Regions from separate parts of the Homo sapiens genome. Here all the other regions are linked to region 1. Evidence: promoter capture Hi-C in human tissues and cell types (Jung and others, 2019). All regions are on one chromosome and are shown on one strand. The core of a region is centred on a gene start or on the middle of the fragment in contact, and the rest is flanking DNA. Distances in the headings are between cores, read along the strand shown.

Evidence for each region. Contacts are between HindIII fragments. The study calls those that stand out against the background at their distance.
Region 2: a fragment that was not itself captured here is called in contact with the fragment with the promoter of ZNF236 in region 1 in 5 of the 25 tissues and cell types used here (H1 embryonic stem cells, IMR-90 fibroblasts, hippocampus and 2 more).
Region 3: a contact is called between a fragment that was not itself captured here and the fragment with the promoter of ZNF236 in region 1, in 2 of the 25 tissues and cell types used here (lymphoblastoid cells and mesendoderm cells).

The regions. Positions count from the first base shown.
Region 1 is chr18:76,820,249-76,824,498 of GRCh38, forward strand. ZNF236 (zinc finger protein 236) reads left to right here and starts at 2,309. Exons shown (of 31, transcript NM_001306089.2): 1 at 2,309-2,414. The coding sequence starts at 2,360. ZNF236-DT (ZNF236 divergent transcript) reads right to left here and starts at 2,047. Exons shown (of 3, transcript NR_040024.1): 1 at 1,768-2,047. RefSeq lists silencers at 114-193, 1,891-2,080, 2,201-2,940 and enhancers at 1,591-1,670, 1,711-1,820. The HindIII fragment of the contact is 16,105 bases long and covers 1-4,250 here.
Region 2 is chr18:77,015,897-77,020,146 of GRCh38, forward strand. MBP (myelin basic protein) reads right to left here. Exons shown (of 9, transcript NM_001025101.2): 4 at 936-1,372. Among named protein-coding and RNA genes, the nearest start is that of MBP-AS1, 38 kb to the left of the region's middle. The HindIII fragment of the contact is 4,409 bases long and covers 1-3,455 here.
Region 3 is chr18:76,991,032-76,995,281 of GRCh38, forward strand. The region is part of intron 4 of MBP (myelin basic protein); the gene reads right to left. Among named protein-coding and RNA genes, the nearest start is that of MBP-AS1, 13 kb to the left of the region's middle. RefSeq lists an enhancer at 1,754-2,326. The HindIII fragment of the contact is 9,676 bases long and covers 1-4,250 here.

The DNA.
Region 1 (4,250 bases), core at 1,059-3,558:
TGGGAAGCCAGGTAAACTCAGGAGATTGACACTAGCCTGGGCAAAATGGTGAAACCCCATGTCCACAAAAAATTAGCTAGGCATAGTGGTGAGCACCTACAGTCCCAGCTACTTGGGGTGCTGAGGTGGGAGGATCACTTGAGCCGGGGAGGCAGAGAGTGCAGTAGGCAGAGACAGCGTCACCGCATTCCAGCCGGGGCAACAGAGCCTGACCCTGTCTTAAAAACAAACAAACAAACAAACATCATACACACACACTTCTTTTTTTGAGACGGAGTCTCGCTCTGTCGCCCAGGCTGGAGTGCAGTGGCGGGATCTCGGCTCACTGCAAGCTCCGCCTCCCGGGTTCACGCCATTCTCCTGCCTCAGCCTCCCGAGTAGCTGGGAATACAGACGCCCGCCACCACGCCCGGCCAAGTTTTTTTTTTTTTTTTTTTTGTATTTTTAGTAGGGATGGGGTTTCACCGTGTTAGCCAGGATGGTCTCAATCTCCTGACCTCGTAATCCGCCCGCCTCGGCCTCTCAAAGTGCTGGCATTACAGGCGTGAGCCACCGCGCCCGGCCACACACACACTTCTTAAACTCACTTAACTCTAAAGGTACACACAGGAAAGAAAGCTGGTGGTGTTATTTACATATGAGGCAAAGTTGACAATAGCAAGCATTATTAGAAATAAAGAGGAACATTTCACAATTGGAAATATTCAAAAGAGCTGGAATACATTTGTCTTATTTAAGGCATAGAGAGAAGACTCGCATGGCTGTAGACAAAACTGATTGGAGGATGACCAGGTACTAGGCTGTATCTGTAATCTAGGTGAGAGAGCATGGCTCAGGGGTAATATACGTGGGAATGGCTTGGATTTGGTTTATATATTGGAGCTAGATCTTTGATGAGATTGAGTGAAGGCTGCAGTGGGAAAGGGTAAGCAAGAATGACTCCTAGACACCGCTCAGCAATAAAAAGCACTTAAAATATTTATCAATATATAGATGAATTCCAACATAATTATGCTCAATGAACAGCCCCCACTTCCCTAAAGATTACGTGCGATACAATTCCATTTATATAAAACACCAAGAAAAACAGGTTGGGCACAGTGGCTCACATCTGCAATCCCAACACTTTGGGAGGCTGAGGCAGAGGGTCAATTGAAGCTAGGAGTTCCAGAGCAGGCTGGGCAACACAGAGAGACCCCATATGTTTAAAAAAAAACAAAAAGCTAGACATGGCGGTCCTCACCTGCAGTCTCAGCTACTCGGGAGGCTGAAGCAGTTGGATTGCTTAAGGGCAGGAGTTTGAGGCTACAGTGGGTCCCGATCGTGTCACTGCACTCCCGCCTGGGTGACAGAGCAAGCGAGACCCAGTCTGTATAAAAAGATATTTAAAAACTCCAGGAAATTCAAACTATAGTGACAAAAAGCAGATGGGTGGGAGGGGGAGGAGGGAAGGAGGGAGAGAGGAAAGGGTTACAGAGAGACGGGAGGAACATCTTCACTGTTGATTGTGATGATGGTTTCACAGTGTATACATGTGTCAAGATGTATCAAACTGCACACTTTAATTTGCGCCACTGCACTCCAGCCCAGGTGACAGAGTAAGGTCGCTTTCCCCGGGCTCGGCCGGCCTCTCCACCCGGCGCTCGGGTGCTGCGCTGCCTGTTCCTGTTGCCACTTCGTGTAAGTTAGCGCAGGCAACAACACACAAGACCAGCACACGTGAAATGGTCCATTTTAATGCACTGCCCCCAGGGAAAGGAACATTACCGGCTTCTGGCCATGTCGTCTTCCCAGTCCCAGATGGCGGTTCCGGGTTTGGGCTCCGAGGCCCTTCGCAGCACTAGGGCGGCGCGAGTAGGGCCGCCCTCCGAGCCATGCTGCGGTCCGAGGTGACGCGCGCACGCGAGTTCGCGGACACGCACGAGACGCCCGGGCCACGGAGGCGCGGGGCTGGCCCAGGGTCCCCGCCAGGCCGAGCTCTAGGGCTGCCGGCCCGGCCCGGTGACCCCCGCGCTCCCCTCCGTCCGCTAAGGCCCCGCGGCGCCGCGCATGCGCCCCGCCGCCGCCCCCGCCCCCACCGCGCCCGCGCCCGCGCCCAACGCCCCCACCGCGGCCCGCGGGCCATGGAACCTGCCAAGGCCGGCGCGGTTCGAGCGCTCCGGTGCGCGCGTTCAGGCGCCTTTCCCCCGTGAGCCCGGCGGCGCTCGGACCGGGCCGCCCGCCGCCGGGCAGCTCCGCCCGCCTCTAGCGCCGGCTGGGCGCGCCCCCGCCCCGGTGCCCGCGCGTGCGCGCCCCCGCCGCCGCGTGTGAGTGTGAGTGTGAGTGTGAGTGGGTGTGGGTGCGAGCCGGGCCGCCGACGATGCCGCGGGGCCGCCCCCCGAAGCCCAGGGAGAGCAAGGCGCGCGGCGACTCCGGTAAGGCCCGCGGCCGCGCCCTCGCGCCCCGCCGGCGGCCGGTGCGGGGCCCGCGCCCTGCCAGTCCCCGGATGCGGCGCGGGGGGCGCCGGGAGCGGCGGGGCGGGGGCGGGGGCCGCGCAGACCCGGGCCGCCGCCGCCGCCGACTGGCCGGGCGGGCCGCAGCGCGGGCGGAATGATACGGGCGAGTCGCCGCCCGGCCCCTCCGCGCGCTGGGCCTACTTTCCTGGGCCGGGCGGCGGCTGAGGCGGGAGGCGGGAGGCGGGTGAGGGAGCAGGCGGCCGCCTCCTGCGCGCGCCCTGCCCCCGCTGGCCCTGCCGCGGCCCGCGCTGAACTTGAGGGAAAGTGGCCGCCCCGTGTTCCGTCCCGGGGCCGGAGGGCCGCGGGGCGCGCTGGGGAGGCGGCCTGGCCAGAGCCCGGGCCTGCGGATACCGCGCCCCGGGCTCCTCCCGGACGGCGCCCCCGCCCGACCCTGCGCGGCGCCGGCTGCCCCGGGGACGTTGGGCTCGGCCCACAGGGAGGCCGTGGAGCGCGGGGTCGTGCACACAGTAGGCGCCAGCGTTGTCCGGGAAGCGCAGGGTCGTGCACACAGTGTGCTCCAGTGTTATCTGGGGCGCGCTGTGGGGCGTGCATACAGTAGGCGCCATTGTGATCCGGGAACTTGAACCCTGAGCCTCTGCAGACGCTGTGGGTAGTGCATACAGTAGGCGCCATTGTGATCCGGGGGGCTGGAACCCTGGGCATCTGGAGAGCGCTGTGGGTCGTGCAAACAGTAGGCACCATTGTGATCCGGGTAGCTTGAACCTGGAGCTTCTGGAGAGCGCTGTGGGTCGTGCATACAGTAGGCATCAGTGTTATGTGGGGAGCGCTAGATCGTGCACACAGTAGGCGTCAGGAAGTGTTTTCCCCAGTAATTTATTCTCCATGGTACTTTGCTAAAGTCATGAAATAACTCAGATTTTGTTTTCCAAGGAAGGAGAAAGGCCCAGAATTTAAGAGCAGGCAGACACACAACCGGGCACCCCCAGACCCTGGCCCTTCCAGCAGTCAGGAATTGACTTGCCTTCCAAAGCCCCAGCCCGGAGCTTGAGGAACGGACTTTCCTGCGCAGGGGGATCGGGGCGCACTCGCCGGTGCCGCGGTTCCCAGGTCGAGGGCAGTGGGGTAGGGGGCGCCGCGCTTTTTCTCGCGGGCGCCGTGGTTCCCGTGCGGCCTTGGACGCGAGTCTCCCCCTGCAGGCCTGGTCCCTGGTCCTGGTCACCCGTGCAACTGGAGCGGCGCTCCGCGTTTGGAAAGGGTTTTGAAGGGGGTTCTAAGGGGGAGTGGGCGCCTAGGACTCCCTATGGGAGTCGGTGGGTTATACCTTGACTGCCGTTGATTTTTATTTAACTGTTTAGCTTAGTGACTCAAGTGTTCCCCTTTTCTTGGGGATGAGTAAACTGAGGCTCATTAAAGAGCTTGTGACCAAACAACACAGGTGCCCCAGAGAAAGGTCGGGCCTGGAAACTACAAAGGATTGTGTTAATTTTGTGTTTAGGAAGAAAGAGGTAATGGGTAGGAATCAATGTAAACTTATTCATAGGCCACACCAAACCAGGAATTCTTGTCGTGATTGCACTTGGTAGAGTTAACACACGTGCACATTACGGAAACGTTGGTGACCAACAGGCGTTTCAGCGAGCTTTCGCACACCTCATGGGCCTTTGTGGGCTGCTGGAGAGATGTTGGCTGCACCATGACCCAGGTATGCAGATTTGTAGTTGGATAACAGCAGTGCTCAGAATTTTGATTAATGGTTGATGGTGTCTGGCCTTTAAGGAAGTCTTTGTTGCCTCT
Region 2 (4,250 bases), core at 1-2,500, 190 kb after region 1:
CCCTGCACACAGGCAGAAAAACAGCTTCATCTTACAGGTTGTGTGAGAACACCCAATAAACTAGGGACTTTTTTGGGAAAAACTTCTTTCTCTCCAAAATTACACAACCACCAAACACTCTAAACATCACGTAAAATACTGCATCTGCAATCTGAATGGCACTCAGGGACCAGCGCTTTGATGAACCAGCAGCCACAGGTTCTCCACTGACAATCAACTGCAGAAACCACTCCTAGACTCTGGACCCCATAGCAGAGTTTTTTTTTTTTGTAATACATTTTTATCCACATTTGCTTTTGAATAAAGAAACTTCTAAGACTCTGTATGCAAATTAATGGAATCACAAGATAATAAAGCTTTGATTCATAGACACTCATTTATCCCTCCCCCCTTCCACTTCTCAGACCACAGAGAACGTTTGCTCAAGGCGGATTTAAATTGAGGAGTTTGTTCAAAAGTCTTCCTCGACCTCAATCCTATGATTGTCGCAGAGCAACATGAAGCTAGCAGCACTGACTCCAGGAAAAAACGAGCATAACCCAGTGTTGAACCCCAGCGTGTGGGCTGCAGAGGCAACATCAGTCATCAAGTCCGCAAGCACACACCACCAGAGACCCTGAGAATGTGGCTCTCTTTCTGCAACGCCCATGTCCAGGCACCCTTAGAGATCCAGAATTCAGCATGTCCTTACATTCCTGAGCCACACCCCGGCCACCATCCCTTGTGAGGAAAAGAGGGGGTGAGTTAAACGAAAACGTCCTAAGCAGCCACTCAGGCCCACACTCTTGGGCTCATATGCATTCTCCAGCACGGAACGAGACCTTAGACAGCAAGAGGCTACGTGCCAGTTCTTCCTCTAATGGCTGAGTTCACCTACTGATTTCTCCTTTGCTTTTTCCATTTAAACTAAAACTCCTCTACTCCTCAGAGCTCACCTTGCCAGAGCCCCGCTTGGGCGCACCCCTGTCACCGCCAAAGAAGCGCCCGATGGAGTCAAGGATGCCCGTGTCTCTGTGCCTTGGGAGGAAGCCATGCCTGGCATGGTCCATGGTACTTGCTGTGGCCAGGTACTTGGATCCGTGCCTCTGGGAGGGTCTCTTCTGTGACGCCATCACATCCAGGCTCTCGGAGGTGGCTGCACTGTCTTCTTGGATGGTCTGGAGCTCGTCGGACTCAGAGGGCCTGTCTTTGAAGGTGTTGTCCTCCCTCCCCGGGGCATCTCGGGAAAAGAGGCGGATCAAGTGGGGGCGGCTCCCTGGGTCAGCTGGGTGGGCATCCTGCCAGGCATTCTTCGGGTCCGCTGTGCGCTTGGAGTCAGTCACCGCTGTGTCCTGAGAGGAGGTCCCATTGTTCTGGTTCGCATCTGCCTCTCCTGCAAACAACAATGAGATATGAATACGGGCCTGTGCAAAGCTGAGCACCGGACAAAGCAGCTTTCTCTGAGGGGTCTTGACCTAGCTGTCTCCTATAAAACCCACAGAATATGTGCAGTCCTCATAAAGCCCTTGGCCTAGGATGGAGCTAACCTGGATGGAGCAGCCTTATTGCAGCTCTGTGTTTCAGAAGGCTCTGGGAATTCCTCAGTTACTCGAGATTTGGCACCCAGCGTAAAATGCACCCAGGCTTCCCGATGAAGTCATCTGAGCATGCAGAGCAGCCACATCAGCGTTTCTTCCCGGGTGCTGCCATGGCTGCTCCCGGAGAGCCCAGATGTGCAGGCACCTTGATGGGACATTGACTGTTTAAAAGGCCACTGGTGCATAAGTTAAATATGCAAGGAGCATTTATTTGACAAAAGGTGTTTTTAGTTTTCTTGGTAGAAACAAAACTTGCCACATCTTTTTGCAATTCATGCATGAAAGAAGTGGGGCATTTAGAATTGTTTCAATCCCAGATTCCACAAGAGGCCTCTCACAATAGAGAACTGCTTATTCAGGACATTTTGACTTGGCTTCTCCTCTGGAAGCAGAAACAATTAGAAATCTGAAGTGGGATTGAGATATTTCATGTTGTATACCAGCATCTCATAGCTTTCTCCAAAAAATACCACATTTCTGTCACGAAGGGCAATGAATCCATTTTGCTTTCAAGTTAGAGTGTTAGGTTTAAATAAATATCATTTAGTTAGTTTCCTCTCCAAACTCTATTACTTATCTACAGAAAACAGGATTCACTCACATATTCCTGTAATACCAGTCATCCATCTATCTCTCTATCCATTCATCCATCCATCCACATAACAGTCCATTTACCCATCCATCCATCTATCCATCCATCCATACACACACCCACCTACCCATCCATCCATCCATGCATCCATCCATCCCCCATCCACTCATCCATCCGTTCACCCATCCACCCACCCCTCCATCTATCCACTCATCCATCCATCCACTCATGCATCCATCCATCCACATATCAGTCCATTTACTCATCCATCCATCTATCCATCCATCCATACACATACCCACCTACCCATCCATCCATCCATCCCCCATCCACTCATCCATCCACCCACCCACCATCTATCCACTCATGCATGCATGCATCCATCAATTCATCCATTCGTCATCCATCCATCCACATATCAGTCCATTTACCCATCCATCCATCTATCCATCCATCCATACACACACCCACCTACCCATCCATCTATCCATCCCCCATCCACTCATCCATCCATTCATCCATCCACCCACCCCTCCATCTATCCACTCATCCATCCATCCATCCATCCATCCATCCACATATCAGTCCATTTACCCATTTATCCATCTATCCATCCATTCCATCCATCCCCCATCCACTCATACATCCATTCATCCATCCATCCACCCCTCCATCTATCCACTCATCCATCCATCCATCCATCCATCCATCCATCCACATATCAGTCCATTTACCCATTTATCCATCTATCCATCCATCCATCCATATATCCACCCATCCATCCATCCACTCATCCATCTATCCATCCATCCATCCATCCATCCATCCATCCATCCATCCATCCATCCACTCATGTATTCATCCATTTACCTACCTGTTCATCCATCCATCTATCCATTCATCCATCCATCCATCCATCCATCCATCCATCCATCCACTCATGTATCCATCTATTTACCTACCTGTTCATCCATCCATCCATCCATCCATCCATCCATCCATCCATCCATCCATCCATTATTTATGAGTACCAAATAGGTGTAATGTACCATTCTAAATATCTGAGTTACAGTGATTGTAATTCACGAGGTCCTTGTCCTCGTGAAACCTACATTCTAGTGGGGAAAGCAGGTGAAAATGTATGTTATGGATTGAATAGTATCCCTCCAAATGATATGTCCATGTCCTAACTTCTGTACCTGTGAGTGTGACCTTATTTGGAAATAGATCTTTGCAGGTGGAATCAAGTGAAGATGAGGTCATTCTGCAGTAGGGTGGGCCCTACTCCAATCACTGGTGTCCTTGTAAGAAGAGAGCAGTTTGGACACAGCCACAGATGCACAGGGGAGAGGTGTGAAGATGGAGGAGGAGCCTGGAGGGGGGCATCTACAAACCTCAGAACACCAAGCACTTCTGGCACCACCAGGAGTAAGAGACATGGAGCAAATTCTCCTGTAGAGCCTTCGGGGGAAGCAGGGCTCTGCAGACATCTCAACTTGAGCTTTCTGGCCTTCACAATGGTCACAGAAGAATTCCTGTAGTTTGAAGCCCCCAGCATATGGTAATTTGTCTTGGCAGCCCCAACTCATGCAATGTGCAACTTCACATCAGGCAAGAGAACAGGAAAGCAGAGAGGGCTTGGGTCAGCAGGAAGGTCCTTGCGGAAATGACAGGACAAGATGAGAGTCTGGGCCCTGCGAGGACTTGGGGAAGTTGGGGAGGGTGCTTCTGGCAGAGGGGAAGGCAGCCCCCACTGGAAGCCTGCGCGGAATCGGCTCCCGGTGGCGGAAGCAGCAGGAGAGCGGCCATGCTGGTTCTGGGTCCAGGAGGATGGCCGGGCTGAGAACCTCCCAGGCCAGGCAGTAACCTGGGAGGCAGGAGGGCCTGTGCAGGGAACTGACCATCTGTGAGCAACAGCAGGGGTATCACAGCCTTGATGGCTGTGAACAGACTGTGGAAAGGGCAGAGCAGGCAGCTATGTGGCGAGAAGACAGGGCTTGGTTTGGGGAGCAGCGGGGCCTGGGGAGGGAAGATTCTAGTGGACGGCCTCTGTGGAGGGATATGATGGAGATGGTGGTACC
Region 3 (4,250 bases), core at 718-3,217, 170 kb after region 1:
TGGGCTGAATACAGGAAAATGCTCGGGAAATACACACAGAAAAACACACAACAGCATGAGGCAGGCAGCTCATGGGCTTTGACGCGGCTGCATAACATGAGCTGGTCTCTGCTTCTCAAAGTAAGTGTCTCACGCCACACTGACACCGGGCTGATTTGGGAATATCACTTCCACATCTCGAGTAAGAGGAAGCGGAGAGGGAAGAATGGCTGGGCATGAGTGCCCAGGGCCAGCTGGTAATCAACAGAACCAGAACACTCCAGGTCACTAGAGATCGCACAGAAGATACAGAGTGGTAAGCACTGCGAGAGGTTAGCTCACAGTGGAGGGAAGGGAAAAGCCATGAGCGCCCGGGGGCAGGGGAACACAGGGGACATGGGGGCAGGTGACACAGGGGACATAGGCGACGCAGGGGATGCTGCGGCTTTTGCAGACTTCATGCATTGTCTGCTCGGCTCTCAGCTCAACTGCAAAGGCCCAACAGCGGTGAATGCGCACCAGGCAAGAGGGCTGATTGTGAGTTCTCAGAAAAGCAAAGGAAAGGGACTCGGGGGAGCTTGCGAGATTGATTTTGTCAGTTTTCCCCTCGCTTTCTCACTGCTGCTCCCAGATGCTACTTGTTCAGAAATAGCCTGCATGTAAAGAGCCCACACCTCAGGCAGGAATGAATTTCTGGAGGTCAGAGGAGCTCTGGCCCCAGGCATGCTGGCTGCGCCCCGTCGACACAGAACGCAGCGGAAGCAAATCAGTTAAATGCACGGAAGTCAATTGAAGTATTTCCCTCCAGTCTGTCAGCTCTATGCACATTGATTGGGAGGACCCCTTGTTGTTCAGAAGACAGTTTTGCCACCAAAGGCCTAACTCGCCCTGAAAAGTGCGCTTTTCTGGGATTTATGGTAGTGCACGGAATGGTGGAATTCAGTGGGTGACAACTGCATGCTGCAGCCACAAAGGACAATGTTTGCAGAGTGTGCTGCGTTTCGCCCAGCACCGACATTGTTCACCTCTGTGTCTGAGCCCAGACGGGGGTCTCCACACGGCACACATCAGGTCTGAAGTTTTGCTGGCACTGGACTCTTTCCTCTGCCCTCCTTCCCTACTCGATCCTCTTCAAAGCAGCGGTTCCCAACCTTTTTGGCACCAGGGATGGGTTTTGTGGAAGACAGTTTTTCCATGGATGGGGGTGGGTAGGGGAACGTTTTTGGGATGAAACTGTTCCACCTCAGATCATCAGGCATTAGATTCCCATAAGGAGTGCACAACCTCGATCCCTCGAACATGCCATTCCCAGTAGGGTTTGCTCTCCTATAGGAATCTGGTGCCGCTGGCCTGACAGGAGGCAGAGCTCAGGAGATAATCTCACTCGCCCGCTGCTCACCTCCTGCTGTGCACCTCGGTTTCTAACAGGCCACAGAGCGGTACCGGTCCAGGGCCTGGGGGCTGGGGACCCCTTCTTTAAACGTTTCTTGCCCTCACCCCCAGACTACTAACAGCTCCCCTGCTGCCTGTGAGGCTCCCTGCCCTGCCCACCCTTCAGGGTGAAGCCAAAGCTCTTTGTCCCCTGGGCCCTAACGTGGTGAGGCTTCCTGTCCACCTTCCCAGCATTCAGCACCCAGAGCAGAGCAAGCTTCGGGAAACAGAAGCAACATGGATGTCCCTCTCCTTCCAGTGTCCTGTGGCCGCCCTTGCCTGCAGCAGGAGCCCTGTTATTCTGGGTGCTTCTGAGGGCCCTTCCCTCTGGCTGCAGCCCTGCCAGGAGCCAGAGCCCCAGCCCCAGCTCTCCTCCCACTTGCCCTGGCTGCTGAGCATCCATCCCCTGCCCTGGGCTGTGCCCCTATGCCCTGGCCCCGACCATCTTCCATGTGGATGGGCTGTGCATCCTCTGCCCTGGGCCTTGTGCAGGGTCCTTTCTGTCCACAAGGCCCTTCCTTCTCCCATCTGTCTGAAACCTCCGCAGGGCCCAGGGCAAAGGCATCTCCCATGCATAGGGCCTACTCAGCACTGCGAGCTCTGTTTTCTGCACCCCTTGCTCGTGGCCTCCCCTGTGACAGAGTTGCAGGCACAGCAGGGCGTAACCATGAGCTGCTTGTCCTTCTCTGCACTGGGCCTCATTACTTCCCAACTAAATGCCAGGGGCCAGGCATGGTCCACGTTCTGAAAATACCACAAAAGTGAAGCAGACAAAATTCCTGCCTGAGAGGTTTTGAATGCATGAGGAATGAAAGAGGGATCCCATTTTGGCTGGGTGTGGTGGCTCGTGCCTGTAATCCTAGCACTTTGGGAGGCCGAGGCGGGCAGATTGCCTGAGGTCAGGAGTTCGAGACCACCCTGGGCAATATGGTGAAACCCCTCTCTACTAAAATACAAAAAATTAGCCAGGCTTGGCGTCGTGTGCCTATAGTCCCAGCTTCAGGGGGCTGAGGCAGGAGAATTGCTTGAACCTCTGAGGCGGAGGTTGCAGTGAGCTGAGATTGCACCACTGCACTTCAGCCTGGGCGACAGAGCGAGACTTTGTCTCCAAAAAAAAAAAAAAAAAACAAAAGATCCCATTTTATCCCTTGGATTTCTTAGTAATCAGCAACTCCATATTTTCCTAGTTGTTTTTCCTATTTTGTGCCCTCGTTGGTTAACGATTCTCATTCCTGATGAGACTGTCAACCTCCCTCAGGCACAGAGCGCAGCTCCCATACTCTTCACAGAAGGCCACTGGCGCTCTGCCTGTGGCCGGCGCTTCATGGCGGGTACCCCTCTGTTTACTGACACCTCCACCTTCTCACACACAGAGGAGTGGAGTTTGCACGCTCAGTTTCCTCCCAGGCAGGTGCCGTGGGCCTTTGAACGTGAGGATGTCAGAAGGGCCAGGAACATCGGAGTCCTAGTAGAAATCCCTGATTCTTCATATTCCAACTCATTCTGTCTATGAATGCTGCAAGAACTCAAGTAATTCTCTGATTCTCCTTGTGTCATGTAATATTTTATCGAATGCTTCTCTGCGTTCAGTGACCAGTTGTATTTAGTCACCACTAACCAGCCTTGTACGTTCTTCTCCTCCATGAGAGGGGGTGTGAAATCGTGAATCAAAAAACAAAATGGAAGAGACGGGAAACTCTTTAAACTGTAAGACGTACATCTTTAAGTGCTGTGTCTACCAGACGAAGTTACTTATTAGCTCCTACTCCAGTGGCCTGAAATCACTGAAACAGCTCACAGTCCAGGGCAAGCCACACCGCCTCGGTGTTTGGATAGCATTTCTCCATTTCTCTACATGCTGAACTTTGGTTTTTGAGTCACATAAACATTTCTGGCCTTTAAATCACTCATCCTGTGATTAAACTAGAAAAATGACTTAAACTTTTTAAGTTTCTAAAGAAAAAACTTAGGGTTAGGTTAGGTTTCTAAAGAAATGAATGCTCAGTCACGCTATGCAGATCTCAGAGGATTTTACAACTTACCATGCTGTCAGAGATTCAACGGAGCATTACATAGATAATGCTTCACATGTGAATTATGAATACTTGCTTTGAATGATAAAAGAAAAATGATATATTTTTGAAGGTGACTGTTATAATGAATATATTGATCACTACACTGGTGAGGAAAAGGTAGTTTAAATCTTTTAAGGTACACATGATGTTGGTAGGTTTTATTTGAGCTCTTGGAGCTATTATCGGGGGTCAGAAATGTCTATGAAAAAGGCAGTTGGTTTATTGGTGGTCCTCATACAGAACAAAGAATGCAGTGAGCAGCAACTGTTTGTTGAATTAACATGTAGGCTGTTTAGTTCACTTTTAATACAGAACTGACACTGGTCTTCAGTGAATGGAATAATTTTCATAGGATCATACACATTTTTTGGTTATAGATGCATTGAAGAGTGACTGAACTAGGGCTTTGACTTGGGCTTTTAGCCATAAATCATCAGTTGCCTAGATAATTTGAGGCAGTCTTATATCTGTATTGTTATACCATAGTTGTAATGACCTATCACTAAAAGGACATTTAGTCAATTATATATCTACATCCAAGTAATGAACAATTAAAAAACATTAAAAATTATTACATATAATAGCATCAAGGAAACAAAATATTAGGTATACATTTAGCAAAAATGTACAGAACTTTAAAGCTAACACTAGAAAATGCTGGTGGAAGAAATCAAAGTGAACTTATAGAGAGACATACTATGTTCATGAATTAGAAGACTCAACATAGTAAAACTGTTGATTCTTTCCCCAAATCGATCTACAGGT